Regions from separate parts of the Homo sapiens genome. Here all the other regions are linked to region 1. Evidence: promoter capture Hi-C in 16 types of primary human blood cells and fetal thymus (Javierre and others, 2016). All regions are on one chromosome and are shown on one strand. Each heading gives the region's core, a stretch centred on a gene start or on the middle of the fragment in contact. The rest is flanking DNA. Distances are from core to core; before and after follow the strand shown.

Evidence for each region. Contacts are between HindIII fragments. The CHiCAGO score rates a contact against its expected background, and 5 or more counts as called.
Region 2: a fragment that was not itself captured here is called in contact with the fragment with the promoter of EEF1E1 in region 1 in 1 of 17 cell types (naive CD8 T cells); the score reaches 5.1 in naive CD8 T cells.
Region 3: a fragment that was not itself captured here is called in contact with the fragment with the promoter of EEF1E1 in region 1 in 1 of 17 cell types (total CD8 T cells); the score reaches 5.8 in total CD8 T cells.

Annotation. Positions count from the first base shown.
Region 1 is chr6:8,100,167-8,104,181 of GRCh38, forward strand. EEF1E1 (eukaryotic translation elongation factor 1 epsilon 1) reads right to left here and starts at 2,382. Exons shown (of 4, transcript NM_004280.5): 1 at 2,269-2,382. The coding sequence starts at 2,355. It overlaps EEF1E1-BLOC1S5 (EEF1E1-BLOC1S5 readthrough (NMD candidate)), which reads right to left and starts at 2,429. Exons shown (of 7, transcript NR_037618.1): 1 at 2,269-2,429. RefSeq lists silencers at 1,781-1,966, 2,175-2,294, 2,435-2,634. The HindIII fragment of the contact is 8,997 bases long and covers 1-4,015 here.
Region 2 is chr6:7,282,786-7,286,800 of GRCh38, forward strand. SSR1 (signal sequence receptor subunit 1) reads right to left here. Exons shown (of 8, transcript NM_003144.5): 8 at 1-4,015. Among named protein-coding and RNA genes, the nearest start is that of SSR1, 28 kb to the right of the region's middle. The HindIII fragment of the contact is 3,708 bases long and covers 912-4,015 here.
Region 3 is chr6:7,312,568-7,316,582 of GRCh38, forward strand. It overlaps SSR1 (signal sequence receptor subunit 1), which reads right to left and starts at 632. Exons shown (of 8, transcript NM_003144.5): 1 at 475-632. The coding sequence starts at 553. RefSeq lists enhancers at 1-664, 665-1,531, 868-937, 948-1,007 and silencers at 88-137, 268-377. The HindIII fragment of the contact is 700 bases long and covers 1,766-2,465 here.

The sequences.
Region 1 (4,015 bases), core at 1,132-3,631:
CTTCACAGTTGGGCCTCAAACTGTAATTTGGGGTTTACCTTGCATTGCATCATTCCTCATATTGGTTTACTTACTGCCCTAAACTTCCCAATCCTTCATAATTTATTGGTTTTACACATCTTTCAAAGCATAATCCCTTAAATGCCAGCTCTTCCATGAGTTTATACATCCACTTTTATAGTCAGAATTAACTTCCTTTTTCACACTCCTCAACAGTGTTTTGCTCCATATGGAGTCCTAATTAGGGAAAAGAAGTCAGGTTGAGGGGACCAAGGGAAAGCAAAAAGAGAAGGGCGATAAGCTACAAGTCTGCCTTTCTTCATGGTCCAGGACACAGCCCTTCTGCACAAATAACTCAACAATCTTTCCATGTCCAGCTATCACCGGACCTTCGGCTGATAGAAAACTCAAGTTAGCTCACTGCAACCTTGGTGTTATCAGTACTGCACAAACCCCTCTTCAGCACACAACTGAAGTACTATTCCGTAAAATCCCCAGCCAGCCTTTGTTTCCTTGCAGTTAGCTCCTCTCTTACTAACTTGCCTGTTGCACTCTTGCAACATATTTTCATACTTTCTCTAATAAATCTGCTTTTCTTTACGTACAGCTGTCCTGGTAAATTCTTACCCTGGCGCCACCAGCCCCAGAGAGTTGCTGCTCACCCACGACAGTCCATGAAGTGCTTACTATGTTGTGCTTTAAATTATTTGCTGATGATTGTTTCTCATACTAGATAATACTCATATCTTGGCAATGGTCCCTAAAAAATATAAACTAGGCCAGGCACAGTGGTTCACGCCTGTAATCCCAGCACTTTAGGAGGCCAGGGCATGTGGATCACCTGAGGTCACCAGTTCAAGACCAGCCTGGCCAACATGGTGCAACCCGGTCTCTACTAAAAATACAAAAATTAGCTGAGCGTGGTGGCGAACACCTGTAACCCCAGCTACTTGGGAGGCTGAAGCAGAAGAATCGCTTGAACCCGGGAGGCAGAGGTTGCAGTGATCCGAGATCATGCCATGGCACTACAGCCTGGGCGACACAGTGAGACTTTGTCTCAAAAAAAAAAAAAAAAAAATATATATATATATATATATATATATATATATATATATATGGCACTCTTCCAATTTAAACGGTTGCAATGTTTGTCCACTCGGCCATATATATTATATTTATACTACATATATATTATATAATATATACACTAAGCTAGGGAGTAGGGGCCGAAGGGACGGAATTATCACTGGGGCAGAGGAAACACCAAAAGAAGGCCACTTTGGCTCCAACGCCTACTCTGCCACCAATCACAGGGCTGATCTTAGGCTGAACACTTAACCTTTCTAGGCTTCAGGTTAACTTAAATAAAAACTATACTACTACTTTCTAGACAAGATCTTCACATGGACCAAATGAAGAAGAGAAAAAATTAAAGACAAAAACCAAACATCATTTGGAAAAAATCTCAAAGGAGCAAAAAAAACATATATCCAAAGTAGTCTTCCTACAACCAATTTCCTTCTCTAATACATTCCTTCTACGACAAACAACTATAAAACACAAACGTTCTAACAGTGCCTAACCAGGCAATCTCATACCTTGTGATGTTTCCCGCATTCACTGTGGGTCGTAACACTTAAACTGATAATCCAAGGCTTTAGAAACGCCTTCCCCGAATCCCCTAGATTGGGCCAAGACTCCTTAGGTGTTCTCTCTGCCATTTATGGTGCAACGTGGCACTCTTCCAATTTAAATGGTTGCAATGTTTGTCCACCTGGCCAAAAAGCAAGCTGCCTGAGAGGAGGAAGCATGTTCCCCTAAATCATCATTGTATTCCCCAGACCCAGCACGGTGCTACCTGGCACCCTGTTAGCTATAACGGAGTCGCTGCGCAATAACTGAATGAAAGGTGCGATTACGGGAAAAAAAAAAAAGCCAGTTACTGAATACATTCCAGGTTGGTCTAAGAGCCCTGTGAGGACCCTCCTCCAACTGGTTTTGTTTCCTCATAATGGGATGATGACAATTTCCCAGGAGGTGAAGTTCAGGCCAAGCCCAACCTGAGCTGGTTAACCCCTCCCTCCAGGAGGTAGGATGGCAGGGGCCGAGGCCCAGAGGCGCCAGCCGGCTAGCGGCGCAGACACGTGGGGAGCTGGGTAGCAGCATCCTCACTCCGCCCGTATCTGGTGGCCGGCCCGGGTCCTGCCAGGGCTCGGCAGGCCCCGCTCCCGTCCACCTCTTCCCCTCCGCGCCGCCTCTCCTTCTCACCTGTCGCTCGCCCTGAGCACTGTATTTATTCCCCTTACTCAGTCCCAGGGACTTCTCCAGTAGCGACAACTCTGCGGCCGCCGCCATCTTCCGGCCGTAGCTCCTGGCAGACGCGAGACCTGCAGAACAAGAACCTCCCGCATTGGTGGAAACAGAAGTCCCACTCCTGCAAACTTCAGCGGCGATTGGCTGAACGGAAGGGGCGTGGAGAGCGCGCGCCAAAGCACAGGAGGCGGGGCCGGTGGAAGGGGCGGGGCTGAGGGCGGGGTGTGAGACAGGTGGAGAAGTGATGGTAAATTTCCACTCGAACTGTTGGGGAGCTAGTTACTGGTAGAAAGGCCCCAAGGCCGGGCTTCGGTGGCTGCAGTAGACTGGATCTGGATCTCTAAATGGCAATCTATTGACATGGCTGCCAGCGGTAACTCGTTAACTCATTTGCTAGTCTAAGAGAATTTATATATGATGGGAACTGAAATTTGCCTTAGTTTGGTTCAGGAATCTGTAAATTTGAACAATCAAATTGAATAGCAAAAAGTTCACAGTCCATTAGGAGTTTCTAACGTGTAGCATAATTCATGAGGATTTTAATTGTGTTGTAGTGGTGAATTCGAAAAACTGGTTTTTCTACTGTTGATCTACAGCTCAACACTAGCAGTAGAATTATACATTTAAAGATTATTCACAGAACACGGAGTATGTCAGATAGGGGTCAAATAATTACAGCTCAAGGAAATAAGCCATTAATGGCATTAATGATCTTTTTTTGCAGTACCAGAAGGCTGGTTACATAATTTATGAAGTTTTGGTATATAAATAAACAAGGTGCATAACTTTGCCCCACTAACTTGCTACATTCTTGTATCTTCAAAAAAGAAAGAAAGGAAGAAAGAAAGAAAATTAGTAGTATATGTTGAATATTTCCAAAAGATTTGTGAAAATACAAAATATTTTCCACTTTGAAGAATGAATAAACAAAGTGTGTATTAGTCTGAGAGAAATAGAACAATCCTACAAGGTAACTCATCATTGAATCAGAAATATCAAAGTTTAGTGGGGAATGTTGTTACTGTGTTACACCTTCCCTATCCCAGAATACTTAATGAGTTTACTCTGTCAGCAGAAGTAAACATAAGGAAAAGAAACTTTTGCCAAATCAACATAACAAAATACAAAAGAAATTTCAGTATAAGTGGATTGTTAGGCACTAAATTATCTGTTTTACTTTCCATATTCAGATAATGGAATGACTATTCTACTACTTTTTAAAAGACCAACCCTCTAAGATAATTCACATATCCATTTTCAGGGTTTAGGTACACTTTTTGCTTGTAATAAAACATTTTTTAAAAAAATTAACATTTATCCAATGCCAATGGGTGGTATATTGAAAATAAGGTTTGGCCTTTGCATAATTATAGAAATATCAAATTAAAAAAGAAATCCCTAAAAAACTGAAAGCAGAACAAAGCATATTGTACATCAAATTGATGACATCATCACCCAGTGTGGACCTCTTTTAAGTGACTTTATAGCACAGTCATTTAATTGTATACTCTTAGTAAGATATGCTTTAAGGACAAAATTCATGAAAACCTGTTTTTGGTTCTTTTTGTTTGTTGGTTTGGTTAGCATCTTGGCAGTGTCAGCATTGGTATGGTGCTGTATATGTACTGTGGAATAAAGCAAAGATGCAATCATGTGGTGTTGCTGGAAAGTTGGGTGTTTGGTGTTGCCCAAAAGAGGAGTT
Region 2 (4,015 bases), core at 1,516-4,015, 820 kb before region 1:
GCAGCTTGTAGGACCAAATGAGAAAAATACATAATCATTATGTTTTAGCCAGAAAAAGGCAACTTGATTATGAACTGGATGACATATCAAATGCAAGGCCTTAAAATGCATTCACTCTAATAAACTGCTCTGTAGAATTCAAGGGAATGAAATCCGCTTCTCATACGTACCAAGGACCAACTGCTTTGAATCTTCCACTGTGGATGATGGCAACTGGTCCTTTTAGGAGAGCCATTTTCCAGACAGTCTTGTCTTTATTTATTTATTTTTTAATTGTTAGTAGCTTTTACTTATTATTTATGTACTTATTTTTTGAGACAGTCTCACTCTGTCACCCAGGCTGGAGTGCAGTGGTGCAACCTTGACTCACTACAACCTCCTCCTCCTGGGTTCAAGTGATTCTCCTGCCTCAGCCTCATGAGTAGCTGGGATTACAGGCGTGCACCACCTCGCTCGGCTAATTGTTTTTGTTCTTTTTTGAGATGGAGTCTCGTTCTATCTCCCAGGCTGGAGTGCAGTGGCACGATCTCAGCTCACCACAATCTCCACCTCCCAGGTTTAAGCAATTCTCCTGCCTCAGCCTCCCAAGTAGCTGGGATTACAGGCATGCACCACCACACCTGGCTAATTTTTGTATTTTTAGTAGAGGCGAGGTTTCACTATGTTCGCCAGGATGGTCTTGAACTCCTGACCTCAGGTGTTCTGCCCACCTTGGCCTCCCAAAGTGTTGGGATTACAGGTGTGAGCCACCGTGCCCGGCCTTTTTGTATTTTTTAGTAGAGATGGGGTTTCACCATGTTGGCCAGGCTGGTCTTGAACTCCTGACCTAAAGTGATCCACCCACCTCAGCCTCCCAAAGTGCTGGAATTACAGGAGTGAGCCACCATGCCCTGCCCAGTCTTTATAAATGAAGCTTGACTCTGGACTGTGATAGCAGAAACAAATACAGGCAGTGCCTCAGAGAATACAAAATATCAAGCAAATCCTAAGTGTTGAAGCTAGAACCCAGGTGAGTGCACTCTGCATTACTGAGAATGTGCTCCCTGCCAAAAGGCTCCTACCCTATTCCAACCAAGCCGGAAATGGCAACAGACCAAACGTGAGGAGTGAGTGCCTCTGTGCTCCTTGAGGCTGTTTCATTACAGATAACAAGGTTACCTAGGGCAGTTGTGAAGATGAAATGAGGATGTGTGTGGAAGGGCAGAGCAGATGCTTGATGTTCTCCATCTGAACACTACTCTTGACCACAGTATTTCTCATTCTCCTTTCTGAAATGCCTCTAGGCCTTAAGCGCCTATTTCTATAAATGTTGGGTGATCAGACCAATATGGTTTCTGAAAAAACTGTTCAGAAATAGACTAATTTTCTTTGGGTGGTTCAGTCTGATGCTGAAATAAATTGCAAGATGATTTTCAAAAATAACATGAACCCCAACAGCTTCACTGAGAAATATGGAGCCTCTTCAAACGTGTTTTTAAAAAGAACTGGATGTGCAGGTGTAAGAGATTTATTACAAAACAAAAACTCCCCTTGCCAGCCTTATTACTCTGGCTCATCATTAAAATCCAGTGCTAGCCATATTACATGCCCATCTTAAAACTTTTATCCTTTAGTTACAAAAAGAATACTATGTAGCTTACATATTCAGAATTTACCTACTACCCCACCACATCAAAGTCCATAAGGTACCATATACTCTTCCCCGCCCCATGCTTCATGGGATGTTATTACAGTATGGTGCTTTACAGCGAAAATGAGAGCAGTCACTTAAGCGGCTTACTGAGACCCAGGCAATGTTCTAAGCAGCTACACACAGTAACTCCTAACAACCTTAGGAGGCAGGAACCAAAAGCTGAAGCATCATACAACTTGCCTCCAACTAAGAGGGGATCTGGGGTTCAAACCCAGGCAGCCTGACATGAGCGTTTCCTTTTTTTTTTTTTCTCTTTTGCTAAGTAAAAAGTAGGTTTAAGGGAAGAATCATTTATAGTAACACTGAATTAAGTAAGGGTTTGTAGGTCACAGAATCAGACTATTTAGGGCTGATACTTCAAGCATATCTCAATTAACAAAAAAGCACATTGAGACTCCAAGGATGAACTGCCTTTGCTTAGTGGCCAGGGCACTGTCAAGACCCAGAGGTCTCCTAATTCCCACGCTAGCACACCATACCACCCCTTTGTTCAACCTCACAGAATTGCCAATACTAGCGTATCACCAGGAATACTTACGAACCATACTAACTCACATGGAAGAATGGCAAATGAAAACTGGCCCACATTTTCTTGTTCCTTCTTCAAAGAGTAATAGGGTTCTACCTAATTGTGAACTAGAAGCTGGGGATGAAAAACAAGCCAGATACAGAGCTCACAGTCCAGAAGGAGATGTCAACAAGATGACAGGCTGCCATGGGTACTGACAGAAGTCTACATAAGGGACAGCAGGGGAACAAAAAAAGGCACAGTCAAAACATCTTTGACTGCAATTTGGAGACTTTAAACAAGGATTATCCTTTCTACAGGCATACTGAATTTTCTTTTTAATGCCTCACTGTGCCTATTAAGCAAAATCCGTAATACAACACACCAGACAGAAGCCTTACCCTGTGAGCCGGGCGCAGTGGCTCACGCCTGTAAGCCTGACACTTTGTGAGGCCAAGGTGGGTGAATCACTTGAGCTCAGGAGTTCGAGACCAGCCTGGCAACATGGTGAAACCCCGTCTCTACCAAAAACAAAACAAAAACATTAGCCAGGCCTGTGGTGTGCGCCTGTGGTCCCAAATACTTGGAAAGCTGAAGCAGGAGAATCGCTTGAGCCCAAGAGGCAGAGGCTGCCGTGAGCTGAGATCATGCCACTGCATTCCAGCCTGGGCAATACAGTGAGACCCCATGTCAAAAAAAAAAAGAAAAAGAAAAAGAAAAAAGATAAAAGCAGCTTTACCCTGTAATCTTAGTTCTAGTACTATCTGGTTCTGTAACCCAAGAGCAGATACTTCACTCTTACCTTTAACGTGAAGATTTATCTTTCAATCCTTTAGAGCTTGAAAATGCAATCAACCCATGAAAATGTTTTTAAAGACCATGATTCTGTTCATCAAGGAGACATTTAAAGGTATGTCATTAACAGAAATTTAAAAGGGTATTGTGGGTAACTGAATTATCATAGATACAATACAGCAAGTATATATGGTATATTCATTACTGAGATGATTTGAACTTTCCATATTCAATATGGAACCTTGAGCAAGCTACTTAAATTCAGGTTTTGTCTATTCCATCTACAAAATGGGAACAGTATCACCTTCCTTCAGTGAGCTGTCGTAAAGGTGTGTGATATGATGACTAGAAAACAAACAGAACACAGCACGTGATTGATGTTTAATAAATGAGTTCCCTTCCCCCTTTCTTAAACTGCAGCAAAGTGGTACCCAAACCTAAGAGCTATTATCCCTAAATTTCAAAATCTAAAAAAAAAACCTTAGAACCTCAGATGATATAATTAACATAAAAGCCCAGGTTTTTGTATAAATGAAAAGGGATAAAAATTCATACAAAATCCATTAGTAACATTCATAAGCACCCGAAATAAATTATTTAGATGTTTGCAAGTCAGCTGCAAGGTGTTCTTCCTCCTCAAATATCCTCTAAGGATGAGCTTATAGACAGATTAACTTAACAACGAAACCTAACATTCCACCAGTAAGAATCTTGTTTGTGTGTGAAGCTGCTTTTTACTAAGTTGGAGGTAAGAGCTCAAAGTAGAGTTTTACTTAAGAAAATTGGGGCAAACATTGATTTTAGTTCTACAGCTATAAAATGATGCCATTCAAAAAGTGAACAGTGGGCCGGGCACAGTGGCTCACGCCTGTAATCCCAGCACACTTTGGGAGGCCAAGGCAGGCGTATCACCTGTGGTCAGGAGTTCAAGACCAGCCTGGCCAAATGACGAAACCCCGTCTCTACTAAAAATGCAAAAATTAGGCAGGTGCGGTGACGGGCGCCTGTAATCCAAGCTA
Region 3 (4,015 bases), core at 866-3,365, 790 kb before region 1:
ATGAATGAAGACGGACTCCCGGCGTGGAAGCTAAAGACACGTCAGCCCTGAGCGCGAGGGGCTGGGGGTGGAGCGGAGCCGGAGGTGGCCAAAAGAAACAGCCCGGCTGCGGCGCGCTCGGAGCGCAGCCGTGTCCAGCGCCTCCTCCTGCAGCCGAGGACCCTCCAGTTCTGGCCGCTCCTGCAGGCGAGGGTCCAGGGCAAGAGGAGCAAGCCCAGCCCTCGGCCGGCCACGAAGCAAGGTCGCCCGGGCACGGCCCCGCGCTCCGCGTGCAAGGGGCAGGCCGCAGCGGGGTCTCCAGCGCCCGCGGGGACCCCTGCTGCTACGAGCCTAGGCTTGGGGAGAGGGCGGAGAGAGGCCAGCGGGGTGGACGCGGACCCCAGGACCCGGAGCGGCCACCGCCTCCAACTTCAAACTTGCCATCACTGGCATCTCCTTCCTGGCCATCCCCTCCGCACACTCCCCCAGCCTCACCTCTGGGGCCGCCTCGGAACAAGACAGTGGCAGGGAACACGAGTAAGAGAAGCAGCAGCAAGCGGGGGAGGAGTCTCATGGCGCTGCCGGTCCAGTGTCCAGTTTCCGTCGGCTAAGGCTCTCGGCGGCTCCGGCGGTAATGGCGTTACTCTTCATCCGGGCTCCGGGCAGCGAGGGGCGGGACACGTACCGCGCACGGGCCTTTGCCACGCCCCTCCCTGGACCAGGGACCGCCGCCGACGTGGCTGCTCAGCGCGGAGAGGTGGGGAGAGCAGGCCACCGGGAAGTCACGTGGCCGGCTGCTGCCTCTTTGTGGCTCCCGCGAGAGTCCGCCTTCCGCCGCAGTTGCGACCCGGCAGCTTGCGGTTAGCCGTTCTTTCCGCCCAGTTCTTTACTTCCAATTAATTAGCATTGTCAGTGGTTACTTTATTTGAATGACGATCCTCTTGATAACGGCGATGTAAGGAACATGAGCTGCCTTTATGTGGCACTTAAAAGCAAAAAATTTTGTTGGAAGAGAGGACATTGTTCAAAGGAAAAACCATGAAAATACACAGTGGAAAATCTTTGTCCCCTGTCTGCCCACACCCTCTCCCATGGTTAAGTAATGACAATTCTTAAATTATTATTTTTGAGACGAAGTCTTGCTCTGTCGCCCAGGCCAGAGTTCAGTGGCACCATCTCTGTTCACCGCAACCTCCGCCTCCCGGGTTCAAGCGATTCTCCCGCCTCAGCCTCCTAAGCAGCTGGGACTACAGGCGCGCACCACTACGCCCGGCTAATTTTTGTATTTTTACTGGAGACGGGGGTTTCACCATGTTGGCCAGACTAATCTCAAACTCCTGACCTCAGGTGATCCACCCGCCTGGGTCTCTCAAAGTGCTGGGATTACAGGTGTGAGCCACTGCGCCTGGCCAGCAATTCTTAAATTCGTATGTGACATTCCAGAATTATAAGTCACCTAAACAGTGTTTTGGTATGTAGTCAGCATTTGTAACTATACAATAGGTGCAGCAATGGCTGTCCAGTTTTCTTTAGTTTCCTTTTCATCTATTTTGGATTTGAGTTGCTGGAGTAATATAGCAGTTCATGAAATTAATCTGAATATTAAGTAATCTTGGTCTGGACCAGAGTGAGATGTCATAAAGATGAGGAAATAAATCATATGCTTACTATTGTCAATCACCTCCTTAGAGCTGTGCTTTTTCATTTAATTTTCTAAACCTCTCTATGAGCTGGATATTATTTACTGAGGAGAAAACAGACCCAGAGAGGTTAGTAATTTACTCAAAGCTTCAAAACGCTAGCAAACGGCAGATGCAAGATTTGAACAAGGCTATCTGGTTCCAGATTCCATACACTACTGACCTAGGACATTTGCTGTTCTACTCCTGCATTGTTTCCGCTTCAGGTCTCCTTGTCCTGGGGGCTGTAAATGCAGCTTGGACCCACTGCCACCACTACCTACAGTCTGCTAAAGTCACAGCCTGATGGTGCTGGGCTGAATCAACCAAATTCCACTCTGCCAGGCCACCAGTGGCACCGCTGCTGTGTTGCTGCTGCTACTAGGGCGCCCAGCATAAGTGGAGGGCCTCCTCTCACTTTGCTGCTGCCTCTGCTCCTGTGCACGCTACCAGTGTTGCCACTCTATGTCAGAGCTGTGTCTGGAATAGGGTTCTTGGTCTCACTGACTTTAAGACTGAAACCGCAGACCCTCGTGCTGAGTGTTACAGTTCTTAAAGTCCAGAGTTTGTTCCTTCATCATGTTCGGATGTGTTCCGAGTTTCTTCCTTCTGGTGGGTTCATGGTCTCACTGGCTCAGGAGTGAAGCTACTAGACCATCGCAGTGAGTGTTACAGCTGTTAAGGTGTCCATTCCTCCTGGTGGGTTCATAGTCTCGGTGGCTTTAGGAGTGAAGCTGCAGACCTTCGCGGTGAGTGTTACAGCTCATAAAGGCAGTGAGCAGCAGCAAGATTTATTGCAAAAAACAAAGCTTCTGAGAGGTGACAGCATGCTGGCAGTACTCAGCCCTCGCTCGCTCTCGGCGCCTCCTCTGCCTGGGCCCCCACTTTGGTGGCACTTGAGGAGCTCTTCAGCCCACCGCTGCACTGTGGGAGCCCCTTTCTGGGCTGGCCAAGGCCGGAGCCAGCTCCCTCAGCTTGCCGGGAAGGTGTGGAGAGAGGCGTGGGCGGGCGGGAACTGGGGTTACGCGCGGTGCTTGCCAGCCAGTGCGAGTTCCGGGTGGGCGTGGGCTTGGCGGGCCCTGCAGTGGGAGCGGCCAACTGGGCCAGGCGGGGGGCAGTGAGGGGCTTAGAACCTGGGCCAGCAGCTGCTGTGCTCGATTTCTCACCGGGCCTTAGCTGCCTTCCCGCGGGGCAGGGCTCGGGACCTGCAGCCCACCATGTCTGAGCCTCCCCCAACCCCATGGGCTTCTGTGCAGCCGGAATCTCCCCGACCAGCGCCACCCCCTGCTGCACGGTGCCCAGTTCCTTCCACCACCCAAGGGCTGATCAGTACAGGTGCACAGGCATGGGACTGGCAGACAGCTCCACCTGCAGCCCCAGTACGGGTTCCACGGGGTGAAGCCAGCTGGGCTTCTGAGTCTGGTGGAGACGTGGAGAACCTTTATGTCTAGCTCAGGGATTGTAAACACACCAATCAGCACCCTGTGTCTAGCTCAGGCTTTGTGAATGCACCAATCGACACTTTGTATCTAGCTACTCTGGTGGGACCTTGGAGAACCTTTGCGTCCACGCTCTGTATCTAGCTAATCTAGTGGGGACGTGGAGAACCTTTGTGTCTAGCTCAGGGATTGTAAACGCACCAATCAGTGCCCAGTCAAAACAGGCCACTCGGCTCTACCAATCAGCAGGGTGTGGGTGGGGCCAGATAAGAATAAAAGCAGGCTGCCCTGAGCTTAGCAGCGACAACAGGCTCCAGTTTCTTTCCATGCTGGGAAAATATCTGTTCTTTTGCTCTTTAAGCTCATATTGCCTTTATGAGTTATAACACTCATTATGAAGGTCTGCAGCTTCGCTCCTGAAGCTAGGGAAATCACGAACCCGCCAGGAAGAATGAATAACTCAAGATATGCCACCTTAAGAGCTGTAACGCTCACTGTGGAGGTCTGTGGGTTTACTCTTGGGCTAGTGAGATTACAAGCCCACCAGAAGGAAGAAACTCCGGATACACTGCCTTTAAGAACTGTAGTACTCACTGTGAGGGTCTGTAGCTTCATTCTTTAAGTCAGGGAGGCTAATGAGCCCCCAATTCTGGACACTGGAGTGGGACCTGAGCAGGTTGCCACTGATTCAGGCAGCCTGCTTTTTTTTCCGTTTATTTGGCTTCACATTCTGCTGGTTGGTTTATTTTAGAGCTGATTGGTGTGTTTTCAATTGGTGAGCTAGACACAAAGTTCTCCATGTCCCCACTGGGTTAGCTATACACAGAGTGTCAATTGGTGTGTTCACAAACCCTGGGCTAGACACAGTGCTGATTGGTACATTCACAATCCCTTAGTTAGACATTCTCCAAATCCCCA